Regions from separate parts of the Homo sapiens genome. Here region 1 is linked to region 2. Evidence: promoter capture Hi-C in human tissues and cell types (Jung and others, 2019). All regions are on one chromosome and are shown on one strand. Each heading gives the region's core, a stretch centred on a gene start or on the middle of the fragment in contact. The rest is flanking DNA. Distances are from core to core; before and after follow the strand shown.

What was found. Contacts are between HindIII fragments. The study calls those that stand out against the background at their distance.
Region 1: a contact is called between a fragment that was not itself captured here and the fragment with the promoter of LY6H in region 2, in 1 of the 25 tissues and cell types used here (dorsolateral prefrontal cortex).

The regions. Positions count from the first base shown.
Region 1 is chr8:143,104,998-143,111,585 of GRCh38, forward strand. No RefSeq gene overlaps it. Among named protein-coding and RNA genes, the nearest start is that of LY6L, 28 kb to the left of the region's middle. The HindIII fragment of the contact is 5,687 bases long and covers 2,320-6,588 here.
Region 2 is chr8:143,155,712-143,162,749 of GRCh38, forward strand. It overlaps LY6H (lymphocyte antigen 6 family member H), which reads right to left and starts at 4,610. Exons shown (of 4, transcript NM_001135655.2): 1 at 4,487-4,610; 2 at 3,871-3,998; 3 at 3,092-3,211; 4 at 2,205-2,774. The coding sequence starts at 4,488. The coding sequence ends at 2,539. LOC124902035 (a long non-coding RNA gene) reads left to right here and starts at 4,158. Exons shown (of 2, transcript XR_007061136.1): 1 at 4,158-4,275; 2 at 5,086-7,038. The HindIII fragment of the contact is 31,387 bases long and covers 1-7,038 here.

The DNA of each region.
Region 1 (6,588 bases), core at 3,913-6,412, 50 kb before region 2:
TGCATGCAACAGTGTTCTCCTTCAGTGGAACCCTGCCTATGCTTGACTTAGGGCGCTCTGGCTAAAATACGGGAATCAGGGGTGGACGGTGGGTTCTCATTTGAGTCTTTCACTTGTGACATAAGCTGCCCAGGCCAGGATCCAGGATTTTTTTTTTTTTTTTTTTTTTTGAGATGGAGTCTTGCTCTGTCGCCCAGGCTGGAGTGCAGTGGCTCAATCTCGGCTCACTACAATCTCTGCCTCCTGGGTTCAAGCATTTCTCCTGCCTCAGCCTATGAAATAGCTGGGACTACAGGTGCCTGCCATGATACCTGGCTAATTTTTGTATTTTTTGTACAGATGTGCTTCACCACGTTGGCCAGGCTGGTCTCCAACTCCTGACCTCAGGTGATCTGCCTGCCATGGCCTTCCAAAGTGCTGGGATTATAGACATGAGCCACCATGCCTGGCCAGGCCAGGATTTTGTTTTAATCATTGCTTATACAAATCAGGTTAGACTGTCTCCCACTGAATTCAGGAAGCCAAGGGAAGCAACGTTTTTGCAGTTCTGGAATATTCTTCTGTTGCACTTTTTTTTTTTTTTTTTTTTTTTTTTTTTTTTGGAGACAGAGTCTCGCTCTGTTGCCCAGGCTGGAGTGCAGTGGCATGATCTCGGCTCACTGCAACATCTGCCTCCCAGGTTCAAGTGATTCTCCTGCCTCAGCCTCCTGAGTAGCTGGGACTACAGGTGCATGCCACCATGCCTGACTAACTTTTGTATTTTCAGTAGAGACAGGATTTCCCCATGTTGGCCAGGCTGGTCTGGAACTCTTGACCTCAGGTGATCCACCTGCCTCGATCTACAGAAGTGCTGGGATTATAGGCATGAGCCACTGTGCCCGGCCGCACTTTTTATTTGTCAAAGTACAAAGGTACTGACACACAAAAAACGTTTTTTCCTTTGTCATTTTTTTTTTGTGGTAAAATGCACATAACACAGAAAACCAAACGCCAAATCTCTCTCATAAGTGGGAGTTGAACAGTGAGAACACAAGGACACAGGGAGGGGAACAACCCACACCAGGGCCTGTTGGGGGGTGGGGAGCAACAGGAGGGAACTTAGAGGATGGGTCAATAGGTGCAGCAAACCACCATGGCACATGTATACCTATGTAACCAACCAGCGAACCACCATGGCACACATGTACCTATGTAACCAACCAGCGAACCACCATGGCACACACGTACCTAAGTAACCAACCAGCGAACCACCATGGCACACGCGTACCTATGTAACCAACCAGCAAACCACCATGGCACACGCGTACCTATGTAACAAACCAGCAAACCACCACGGCACGCATGTACCTAGGTAACCAACCAGCAAACCACCATGGCACGCATGTACCTATGTAACCAACCAGCAAACGACCATGGCACATGTGTACCTATGTAACAAACCAGTAAACTACCATGGCACGCATGTACCTATGTAACCAACCAGTAAACCACCATGGCACACATATACCTATGTAACCAACCAGCAAACCACCATGGCACACGTGTACCTATGTAACCAACCAGCAAACCACCATGGCACACGCATACCTATGTAACCAACCAGCAAACCACCATGGCATATGTATACCTACGTAACAAACCAGCAAACCACCCGGCACACATGTACCTATGTAACCAACCAGCAAACCACCATGGCACATGTATACCTACGTAACAAACCAGCAAACCACCCGGCACACGTATACCTATGTAACCAACCAGCAAACCACCATGGCACACGTATACCTATGTAACCAACCAGCAAACCACCATGGCACATGTATACCTACGTAACAAACCAGCAAACCACCCGGCACACATGTACCTATGTAACAAACCAGCAAACCGCCATGGCACACGCGTTCCTATGTAACCAACAGCAAACCACCATGGCATGTGTGTACCTATGTAGCAAACCTGCACATTCTGCACTTGTATCCCTGAACTTAAAGTAAAATTATTTTTAAAAATTTACCATTTTTATCATTTTAAAGTGTACAATTCAGTGGCATTAAGTACACTTATAATGTGTGACCATGACCACCATCTTGTTCCAGAACCTTCTCATCACTCCAGATGGAAACCCCATGCCCCACTAAGCAGTCACTCCCCATTTTTTCCTCCCCCAGCCCCTAAGCAACCACTTTCTGTCTCTTGGACTTGTCTGTTCTGGACATTTCATATGAATGGAACCATACAGCATGCGGCCTTTGGTGCCAGGCTTCCGAGGTGCATCCACGCGTGTCACATATCAGATGCATCCACACGTGTCATGTATCAGGTGCATCTATCTGCACGTGTCACATATCAGGTGCATCTGCACGTGTCAGGTCCATCCACGCGTGTCACGTATCAGGTGCATCTGCACGTGTCATGTATCAAATGCTGTAAGTCCTAGTCATGAGGAAAATGAAAACCAAAACCACAATGAGATAGATACCTCTTCACACCCACTAGGATGGTCATCGTCAAAACTACAGAAAATAACAAGTGCTGGTGAGAAGATGAGGAGATTGGAACTCTCAGACCCTGCTGGTGGGAATATAAAATGCCGCAGCCACTGGAAACAGTTTCTTATAAAAGTAAACGTGCAAGTCCTGTGCAACACAGCAAGGGCACTCCTAGGTATATACCCAACGGGACTGAAAACAGGCATTCAAACAAAAACTTGTCCATGAATGTTCATAGCAGCTGATATGGTTTGGATGTTTTTTCCTCTAAATATCATGTGGAAATGATCCCCAGTGTTGGAGGGGGTGGGAAGTGACTGGATCATGGGGGTGGACCCTTCACGGATGCCTTGCTGCCACCCCTTGCTAATGAGTGCTTTCTCACAGTGAGCTCCCGGGAGATGTGGCTGTTTAAAAGTGTGCGGCGTCTCCCCCCACTATGTTCCTCCTGCTCCCATCATGGGACGCGCCATCTCTCACTTCCACCATCAATAAAAGCTCTCCGAGGCCTCCTGAGAAGCCTCCGCAAGCCAATGCCAGTGCCATGCTTACTGTCCAGCCTGCAGAACTGCGAGACAAACACAAATACCAGTCTCAGGTATTTCTTTACAGCAACAAAAGAACAGCCTAATATATGCAGCAATATTCACAAGTACCAAATGGTAGAAGCAACCCAAATATCCCTCAACAAATGACGGATAAACAGAATGTTTAAGTGTATACAGAAGAACACTATTCAGCCACTGTCTCACAGTGAACAAGTCCAAACACATCTACCTCAAAGTCCAAGGAAGCTGACAGGCCAAAGAAAGAGGCTGACAAATTCACATCTTTTTTTTTTTTTTTCTTTTGAGGCAGAGTCTTGCTCTGTCGCCCAGGCTGGAGTGCAGTGGCGCCATCTCGGCTCACTGCAAGCTCCGCTTCCCGGGTTCACGCCATTCTCCTGCCTCAGCCTCCCGAGTAGCTGGAACTACAGGCGCCCGCCACCACGCCCGGCTAATTTTTTGTATTTTTAGTAGAGACGGGGTTTCACCGGGTTAGCCAGGATGGTCTCGATCTCCTGACCTCGTGAAATGCCCACCTCGGTCTCCCAAAGTGCTGAGATTACAGGCGTGAGCCACCGCGCCTGGCCCACAAATTCAGTTCTTAAAAAGAAACATTTAATAGGGACTTAGAAACAGAAGCCATGTCAGTCTCAGGCTACGGTGAGTCAAGATGGCGGCTCCCTGCGCCGTCACCACCCAGGCCCAGGGCTTCTATTGCCATAGTGCAGGGGACATGCCTCAGAGGGGGTGGGCAGGAATTTCCCTAAGGCCAGGACTTGTGATAAGGATGTGCTCTTACACAAGGAACAACAGATGAACGGGAACTCTCAGAGGCATTCCCGGAACTGAGGTTAATCAGAAGCCAACACGACAAACTAGCGTCCAAGATGGAGCGGCTTCGGCCTCCATGATCCGCCCGCGCCGCCCCACTAATCCAGCTCTGACCGTCTCACCTGCCCTCCTCTTCCGCGATGGTCCCTGAGCCTTAGGGAGGGTGCTTGGGGTTGTCTGGCTTCAGCAGCGGTGCCTTGGCGTCGGAAAACAGGTCGGGCCCGGTGAGAGTCCCAGTGAGGGAGGGTCACCGGCTGTTGAATCATCTCTAGTCTTCAGGATACCACGACTTCTGTTTTCTCAGAGAAAATAAAACAACAAGAGATACATAACATTAATAATTTGCACACAAGGATGACAATCAAAAGGGAATTTGTATTTCAGAACAGTAACAAAAAAGAACCTATTTCATTAAGAAGCCGACTAAAAGCATCGTGAAGGAAACTAAAACCCGGTTTTTCTTTAGAGACTTGTAGCCAGTGAATGATTCAGGATTAGCCCAAATTGTAAGCAAATAATAACTCAAAAACAACGGTCAGAGCTAGGATCTAAATTTTTCTCTCTCTAGTTTCCCCATTTCTACCAAGGATAAATCATAGTAGGACCAGTTTATTTGCAAAATAAATTTCGGTCTCATTATACTTGGCCTATTTGCATGAAGCGTGGCAAGAATAGTTACCAGCCCTAGAGGCTTTTTTTTTTTTTTTTTTTCCCTGTGACAGGGGCTTGCTCTGTCAGCCATGCTGGAGTACAATGGTGCAATCAGAGCTCACTGCAGCCTCAGCCTCTCAGGCTCAAACACTCCTCCTGCCTCAGCCTCCCGAGTAGCTGGGACCCTTGGCACACCCCACCACACCCAGCTCATTTTTTATGTTTTGTAGAGACAGGGTCTCAGCATGTTGCCTAAGCTGGTCGGCTCTTTTTAAGTTGGCTTTGCTGGAACTTTTTTAGGGAATTTTGGACTCAACTTATTAAAAGCCTCAAGGGTAGGAAGCCAAGCGAAGGATTCACTGAATGAAATTGAAGTATTTTACCGCAAATTGTGTTTCTTTGCCATGTCTTGAAATAGCCTTGCAAAGCTTTCTCTTGTGGGGAAAAGCTGCATTCTGAAGAGAATCCTTTTCCTTTTTCAGGACTTTTCCCTGATTCAAGAGAGAATCAACTCTGGTAAGAAACATTTACAATCTGTTCTCTCTGAAGCTACCTGGAGGCTTTCTCTGTGTAATAGGAACTTGGTCACCACAATCCCTCATTAACCCAGACATTCCTTCTTTTGATTCCAGGTCTTTAGATAGTAACTCCTTCAACCAATTGCCAATCAGTAAATCTTTGAATCTACCTATGACCTGGAAGTCCCTGTTTCAAGTTGTCCCACCTTTCCTGATCGAACAAATGTATGTCTTCCCTGTATTGATTGGTGTCTCATGGCTCCCTAAAATTTATAAAACCAAGTTGTGGCCCAAACACCTTGGGCACTTGTTCTCACGGTCTCCTGAGGCCGTGTCATGGGCCACAGTCTCTCATATTTGGCTCAGAATAAATCTCTTCCAATATTTTACAGTTTGACTCTTTTCGTTGATTTTTTCATGCCTTTACTTTTGCAGTAGTAGGTAGGGGTTTCCCCAGTCCACGTACAATATCCATTTTCCATTTTCCTTTTTTTTTTTTTTCCTGAGTCTCTATTGCCCAGGCTGGAGTGCAATGGCACAATCTCGGCTCACTGCAGCCTCTGCCTCTTGGGTTCAAGCAATTCTCCTGCCTCAGCCTCCCCAATAGCTGGGACTACAGGTGCATGCCACCATGCCCGGCTAATTTTTGTATTTTTAGTATAGATGGGGTTTCATCATGTTGGTCAGGGTGGTCTTGAACTCCTAACCCCAAGTGATCCGCCCACCTCGGCCTCCCAAAGTGCTAGGATTACAGGTGTGAACCACTGTACCAGCTTCAATATCCATTTTCATAAAGCATTTAGGTAAAGGATATGTAATGCCTTACATAAAGCCTGTTTAAACATCTCGGCTTTCATAACTCTATCACACAAGTCGACTTTCATAACTCGACGTCTTTCTGTTCTGCTCCCAGGAACTTCTTTTTCCCACCTCCAGACCATTTTACCCTCTCTTGTGAAAAAGGATGTGGGTGCCCCACAGGGGCTTGATCCAAGGGACCCTGGCCCTTCTGTCAATCTTATCTTGATTAACCCACCTCAACATTGGCCCCCGCAATTGTTGGTCAGTTTGCTCAGTGTAACTTTTGCCTTCCAATTTTTATAGTTAGAGTGCCTTCTCCAATCTGGCAAAAACTGTTTTGGAGCTCTTTACTGTTGAGGGACCAGCGGGGGCTCCCTTTGTTCACCCAACTTTCGATAGTGTTGTATTAAGACCTTTGTGAATAACCCCCCATTATTCATTCCATTGCTTAACAACCATGTACAGATTCCACCCCGCTAGGATGCACCCCATGACTCTCTCCTTTCCTTTTTCCTCTTGGTTTCACCCCATCCACTTTTTACCTTTTTTTTGAGATGGAGTCTTACTCTGCCACCCAGGCTGGAGTGCAGTGGCAGTCTTGACTCACTGCAATTCTCCTCCCTCAGTCTCCTGAGTAGCTGGGATTACAGGTGCGCGCCACCACACCTGGCTAATTTTTGTATTTTTAGTAGAGATGAGGTTTCGCCATGTTGGCCAGGCCAGTCTCGAACTCCTGATCTCAGGTGGTCTGCC
Region 2 (7,038 bases), core at 3,360-5,859:
GTGGCTGACACAGAAGGCGTGGAGATTCTCTTTGTCCACGAGGCGGGCAAAACGTTGCTGAAGGTGAACAACACTCATTGCTAGCAAGTGTGTCCAGAATCTTCAGAAGCAGCAACTTCATCAGATTTCTGCTCATTCATTGGCATCCATCCTACACCCATCACCACTTGAGCCCATGGAGGTATGAGGACAAGGAGGGTCACTTCAGTGTTGCTGACAATAGACATTTGAGAACAAACCCTACACCCACTGATAAGGGACAGTTACAAATGCACGGCTCCCTCATCCAGGGGAACCCTAAGCAGACGTTAAAGCCGGTCCACCTGGACACGGGGCCCTGGGATGACATCACCGGTGAACTGCTCAGTAGAAAGGGTTGCATAGCAGATCAATTTCTCAGCACCGTCCATGTGCCCCGCTGGACCAAGGGCTTCACGCGGACGGTGAAGTTCAGCCCTTCAAAGACAACCTGTCAGGTGGGGACCACACTTAAACTCCTTCAGAGATGGGGAAACCCACTCAGCCAGTGCCAGCGGCAGCTTGGGAGCTGGCCGGCTTCCTGCCTGTCTGGCCCTGGCAGCCCCTCAGGGTGGGAGGTGATGGAGAGGTGAGGGCGTGCCCTTCTGATTGTATATGATTTTTCAAGAAGGTGGGAGAATTTCACTCCTTTTTGTGTCTTTAAATACCTCTTTCAGATAATAAATTCAGCATACAAAGATTTATATGACAATTGGCTCAAGCCTCACCCCGGTGGGATGGCCTGTCCACGGCCTCCCTAGCTGGCCAAGGCTTCCCTCGGGGGTTCCATCGCTCCAGGGCTTCCTGCCTCCTGGGAATTCTCAGCTTCTCTGCAGTACCCCAGCCCCCAAAACAGGAGGCACAAGCAAGAGCAGCACACTTTACTGAAGGGTGGGGTGGGGGCGGGGGCTGCATCACAGAGCAGGTGGCCTTCAATGGAAAAGCCCCTTGGCTGTGTCCAGCAGGGAATGGGCACCAATGCCCAGGACCGCAGGCCTCCTCTCTCTTCCTGGCTCACCAGCCCTGGACCCAATTCCTCGCCATCCCTCATGCAAGGCCAGCCTTTACAGGAACCACTGCTTTCCCTAAGGAGCCCAGGACCCAGCAGTGGCCATGAGATTGGGTCAGCCACAGGTGGCATGATGCAGCAGTGGCCAGAGACCAGGCCTCGGAGAAACCCTGGGGTGCCTGCCAAGCGGTGTGGTGAGCCTGGGCCGTGAGACGAGCCGCTGGTGGAGCATCTAGCGTGGTGGCCGGTGGGTGTGGGAGGCTGGGCTGGATGCGGGGGTGCAGGGCTGAAACTGGAGCAGGAAGGATCAAGACATCACTCCAACATTCCCCAGGCCAAGTCTTCCCTGCCCCCTCACCCCACGGCACCCAGTCCCTCCGGGCCAGCCCACAGAGAGGTGTGGGCTTCCTCAACCCCTGGCCACAGGGAGTGGCCTCAGGAGCCCAACTCAGGGCCAGGAGTGGCCGGAGTGGATGTCCAGTGAAGAGGCAGGGTGAGGGAACAGGAGGACTCCACTCGGCCTGAAGCAGCCCCCAGGGGCAGAGACAGCTGGGGTGGGGGCGAGAGGAGGCCAGCACGCGTGGTCTCATCTGTGAGTCTGTGAGGGCACCGTGTGCACTGCACGCTGAGTGTACAAGGGTGGGTGTGCACAGACATGGGCATGCACGTGTGGGTGTGGGCACGTGCACTGGGACACGCCAGTTTGTGCCAGTTATGTGCATGCCCCAGCACGTGTGCGCGGGGCACCTGGGGTGTGTGTGTGTGAAGGAGCAGGGCGGGCACGGGTGTGTGTGCACATGCTGGCTGCGTGGGCACCGTTTGTATGCTTGTCTGGGCATGAGTGTGTGTGCACATGCTGGCTGCGTGGGCACCACTGTTTGTGGGCGTGTCTGGTGTCTGTGGTGTGCTCACAGGATTCCGGTACCTCCCCCCAAGCCCACCCTGTGATCTTGCTCATCTCAGCTCTCACCCCATCACCCCAAGTGCTCCTAAACCTCACCAGGACCAAGCAGCCCCAGCACAACCACCCAGCACCCCAGTGCCCTGAGCCCAAGAGCCCAAGATCCTGGCTGAGCGCCCGCCCTGCCCCCAGCCCCTCCGCTCCCTCAGCACCTCATTCCCAGCTCTCTGCCAGGAACCCTTTCCCGCCCCCGACACCCAGGCTCAGACCCGGGTCTCAGGACTCAAAAGTGACTTTATTTCTCCGCAGAAGACGCCCTTCCAGCTGGGCTGTTGCTTCACTTCCCCTCCGGGACCTGGGGGTCCCCCCCCACCCTCATCCCCAGGCCTCCTGCCCAGATGGCCTGGTTTCCTGGAGATGTCCAGCTGCCTGGGACTCAGAGCTGGCGGAGAGACAGGGAGGCTTCACGTCGGGGGAGGAGTGAGAGCCACAGGCCACAGCCACGGAGCTGGGCCAAGGCTGCCCCCAGCCCCAGCCACGCCAGGCTGGGGAGAGGGCAGCCACAGGCTCAGGGGAGCAAGCTCAGAAGCCCCGTGGGAAGGAGGAGACATCAGGGCCCAGCCCAGAGGAGGGCAGGCCCCAGGCTGAGCAGGAGCCCCCCGGCCAGGGCCCAGGGGCTGTGCCCTGCCCCTGCCGCCCCATTGCACAAATCCTTCTCGCAGCAGTCCACGTCGACCTTTAAGATCCCAGAGTTAATAAACCCCATCAGATAGTCTGAGAAAAAGTGTCGCTTAACGAAGTCACAGGAGGAGGCACACATCTTGTTCACCGAGTGATCCTTCCTGCCTGGGAAGAGAAAGCGTGGCCTGGGACGGGGGCTCCTCCTGGGCCCTCTCTGCCTCATCCCGAGGACCCAGCCCAGGCCCCTCCGGGTCAGCTCGGGGCCCCAGTAGGCAGGGCCGAGTCCCTCCACCCTCCCACGCTGGCCTCAACTAGATGAAAAGGGCCACCAAGGAGCCAGGGGGGGACAGCAGGACAGTATCCTGCCTGCCGCCCCACGCTCTCACTCTCGTCCCAGGCCAGAGGGGCTCCGAGGACACCTCTGACCTCTCTCAAGAGCCTGGCTTTTAGCACATTCCCCACCACCCTAAGTCCCAACTTACTGCTGCTGGGATCGGTGATTCGGACACTGGCACACACCGTGTCGGACGGCTGGCACTGCTTTGGGGTGCAATGGCTGGAGTTGGTGGTCAGGGTGCAGTCCTGGCACCACAGGCCATGAGCTGGGCAGGGCATGGGGAGGAGGGTGACCAGAGGCACTGGGGTCCAAACCAGGCAGCCCCCTGCGCCCCCCACCCATCCCCCTGCTGCAGGCACTCCTGGGAGAGCCCGACCCCACGGGAGGGAGCAGGCCCCCATGACCCCTGGAGGGGGAGCAGAGGCCCTGGGACAACTGTGCCCCATCCTGGCAGTTTGAGGGGAGCCCCTATGGCCCCTCCCTGGCCCCCATGCACGTGCGTGCACACACACACACAAACACACACACGGGCTATACAGACCCCACACCGACAGTGCCCCCCTCACACTCCCGCCCCGCCTCACATATCCCCCCCAGAGGTCCGTGGGTTCCAAGCTGTGAAGGACCAAACTGGATTTGAAAGGAGGCCCGGGAGGCTCTCAGAGGTGACGGATGACCAAGGGCTTCCGTGCGGGGCCAGCCGCCCACCAGTTCCAGGCCCTGGAGGAAGAGCGCTGGAGAGAGCCCAGTGCCGGGGCAGAGGGGCCGAGGGCCGGGCTGGGGTCGCAGGGGTCCCGGAGGGGGCGTGGGCTCTATGCGAAGTGCGGTGGGAACCGTCAGAGGGTGGCAGCCCCACACCCGGCTCTCCCGCGGCGCCTCGGGCTCTCCCAGGCACCTGACCCAGCCCGCGGGCCCCCTACTCACCGGGCGCCGAGCACAGCAGGACGGCCAGCAGCGCCAGGCCGAGGCCCTTCATGGCTGCAGGCAGCATGCTCCGGGTGGGCCTGGGGGCGGCGCGGGGGCTTGGGGCGCGGGTCCTCTGGGGCGCAAGCCTGGAGGGGAGAAGCATCGGTCAGGAGACCCCAAAGACCCTCTCCTTTCCCAGCCTCAGGATGCAACCTTCTCCCCGGAATCCAAGGCCGGGGTCCGCCCGGAGCTCGCAGAGCCCCACCCCCAGCCCCTTCTCCAGAGCGTCCGCCGTCACAGCATCCCCGCCGGGAGACGTCTGGCCTCTGGGGCGAGGTGACAGCTCGAGACGCCTCCGCCCCGCGCCGGCACCTGTGTGGGGGAGCGGATGGGGGGCGTCCTCTTCTCCCCGGGGAGCTGCAGGTGCGTCCGGACAGGAATGAGCGGCAGGGGCGGGAGCGGGTGGGACCTGCCACTGGGGGGAGGGGCGCGTGCCAGGTCCCCACCCCCACCCCTGGGCTGGGGGGCCGGGAACCCCGGGCCGAGTCCCCTCCCTTGGCCTTCCGCGCGCGCCTCGGCGCTCACCGCGGATGGGGCGTGGAGCGCGGGCCTCGGGGTCGGGGGGCTCACTCACATCCCGGGGGTGTCCGCACTCCGGGCTCGGGCGGCGTGCGCGGCGCGGGGAGCTGTGCCCTTCGGTCTCCCTGCGGACCGGAATCCGGGCGCAGCCTCGTCTTTCGGGGAACGCAGCCGCAGACGCGGACCCCGCGCGAGGGGCGGGGCGGAGCCGGGGCGGGGGCCGCGCGGGGGGCGGGGGCGGCTGGGAGACGCGCGGGGCGGGGGGCGCCCGGGGCTCGCGGCCCCCACGCAGGTAGCTGGCCCGGGCCCTCCGCGCCCCCTTGCTGGCGCGCGCGCTCCCTCGGGTTCCCGCTCCCTCCCTCGCGGCGCCCCCTGCTCCTCCCCAGCCTCCGCGGCCCCCTACCCAGGCGTGGGCAGGATCCCTTCCCCCTCTGCTTGGCTGAGATCCCCTTGGAATTTCTCGGAAGAACGTTTACTGCGAAAGGAAGCAAAATGCACAAAGACGCAGAGAGGGGGAGGTACCCGGCGCGGCGCCACGCGCAGGTCCGGGTTCGCAGACCCCTGGGGTCAGACTCCCGCCCTGGGGCCCCGCCCTCCCCCTCCTCCCCGCCCCTCCCCAACCTCATACCCGTTTCCCCGTTTCCCCGTTTCCAGTGGCTCCAGGCCGTTCTCCTCCCCTGAGCATCCATGAAGACCCCCACCAGAAGCCGCAGCCCCAGGGGCTTCTGTCGCCAAATACTCCCACACTCGGAGGTAAAGGTACAAATCCTGGCCAGAGCATCCGAGCCTTGGACCCGTTTCTCGGCTTCCTTGGCCTTCCCGCCCTGCCCTCCAGCTCCCTAAAAGCTGTGCCTTTGCACGTGTCCCTGTGCCTGAAATCCGCCTCCCCGGGGCACTGGGGAAGCCCCGATCTGCCATCGTGCCTTTGGTCCTGCTCCCTTTCATTTGACCTGAAAATGTTTACTGCATGCTCCCTGCTGCCCTAGCCCTGCCCTGAGCCCTGGGAAAGGGCATGAGGAGAGAGACCTGGTTTCTGCCCTCCTGACTCTCCCCTTGGACAAATGGTGATGCCTACTGCAGCATATCTTTGCAGGATGTGACAGAGCTAACATTTATTGAGCATGTACTATGGATTCCACCTGTTCTAGACACTTCATATTTATTATCTCCTTATAGTCTCACCACAGCCCTGCTGTGCAGATAGTATCATTTCCATCTCACAGATGAGGAGACTCACACGGAAAGGCGGCGCTCCCTGCTCGGGGTCACACAGTGACGCAGGTGACAGGTGACCCAGCTGAAGTGGGAACCCAAGCAGCTTGGGCTACAGGGACTGCACACCTCCGCTCCATTGTGGCTCCAGAGGGGTGGAGGCAAGGACGAGATGGACAAGAGACCACCACAGGAGCGTGCTTTGCCTCAGGGTCAGGGAGAGCTTCTCCCAGGACCTGATACTTTAGCCGAGAACTGAATGAGGAGTTGAGATTCATAAGGTGCAGAGGGCAAGAGCTAGATCAAGGTTCAAACACAATTCTTTTCAAAACATACAGAGCTCGCAAGAAAGTAAAAGAAATCTGAGTCCATAAAGAAAGAAGTAAATAGAATAATGGACTCCCAAAGTCTGCCCACTGAGCAGGAGGCAGATGTGAAACTCACAGTGGTCCTGGGCAGACCTGGACCCCCACGGGGTCTGAGGTCCCGGAAGCAGAGCCTGAGGCAGGGATTCCAGAGCAAGCCCTTTGGTTGGAGGTGGGGATAGCAGCCCTGGGGAGTGGGGAAGTGGTCCAGGGTGGGGAAGGAGGCTGGCAAGCATGTGGTACTCAGCAACCCCCCGCAGTGGGGAAATGGAGCCTGACCCCAGAGAGGTACTCTGGGAAGTGGTGTAAACTGTGAGCCTCAGGTGAACTCACCCAAGGGATGAGGGAACAGGTATTTCACAGCGACACCCAAGAGTCATTGATTGAGGGCTGCCCCGAGGGATGCTTTCTCCTGCACCCTCCACTTGGCACCCACACAGAGCCCTCCGGGGAGCCAGGGTGGTCCCAGGTCAGTAGCATCCCTGCTTGCAAAAGCAAAACCAACGATGAATACTCTGGAGAAAGCAAGCCCCAACTTAGGGACTGAGGTTCCCACAGATTTAACTGAATCAAATATGAGTTCAAAATGAAAAATCAGCACATGTCTAAAGAAAGCAAGCCTCCAAGTGAGACTCAGCTGACAGTGACGAGCAACAGATTTAAATCACCACAAACTTTCTAAATGGAAAATATCAAATATAGGATATAAAATTAACCTATTTGTTATGCTTAAGATATATTAAAATAAGGAACAAAGCACTATGAAACCAATCACCATGCTTATCAGAAAAAAATAGAACCTCTAGAAATGAAAAACTTTTCATTGAAATGAAAAGGTCAGCAGAAACCTTGAAAGAATTACGGTAACTGAAAGAAGCCAGTCACAAGAAAACACATTGTGTGGTTTTCTTTTTATGAAATGTCCGGAATAAACAATCCAAGAGAGACAGAAGGTAGCTTAGTGGTTGCCTTGTGCTAGAAGGGTGGGATAGGGGAATCAGTCCTCCTTAGGGACTGGTAATAGGCACTA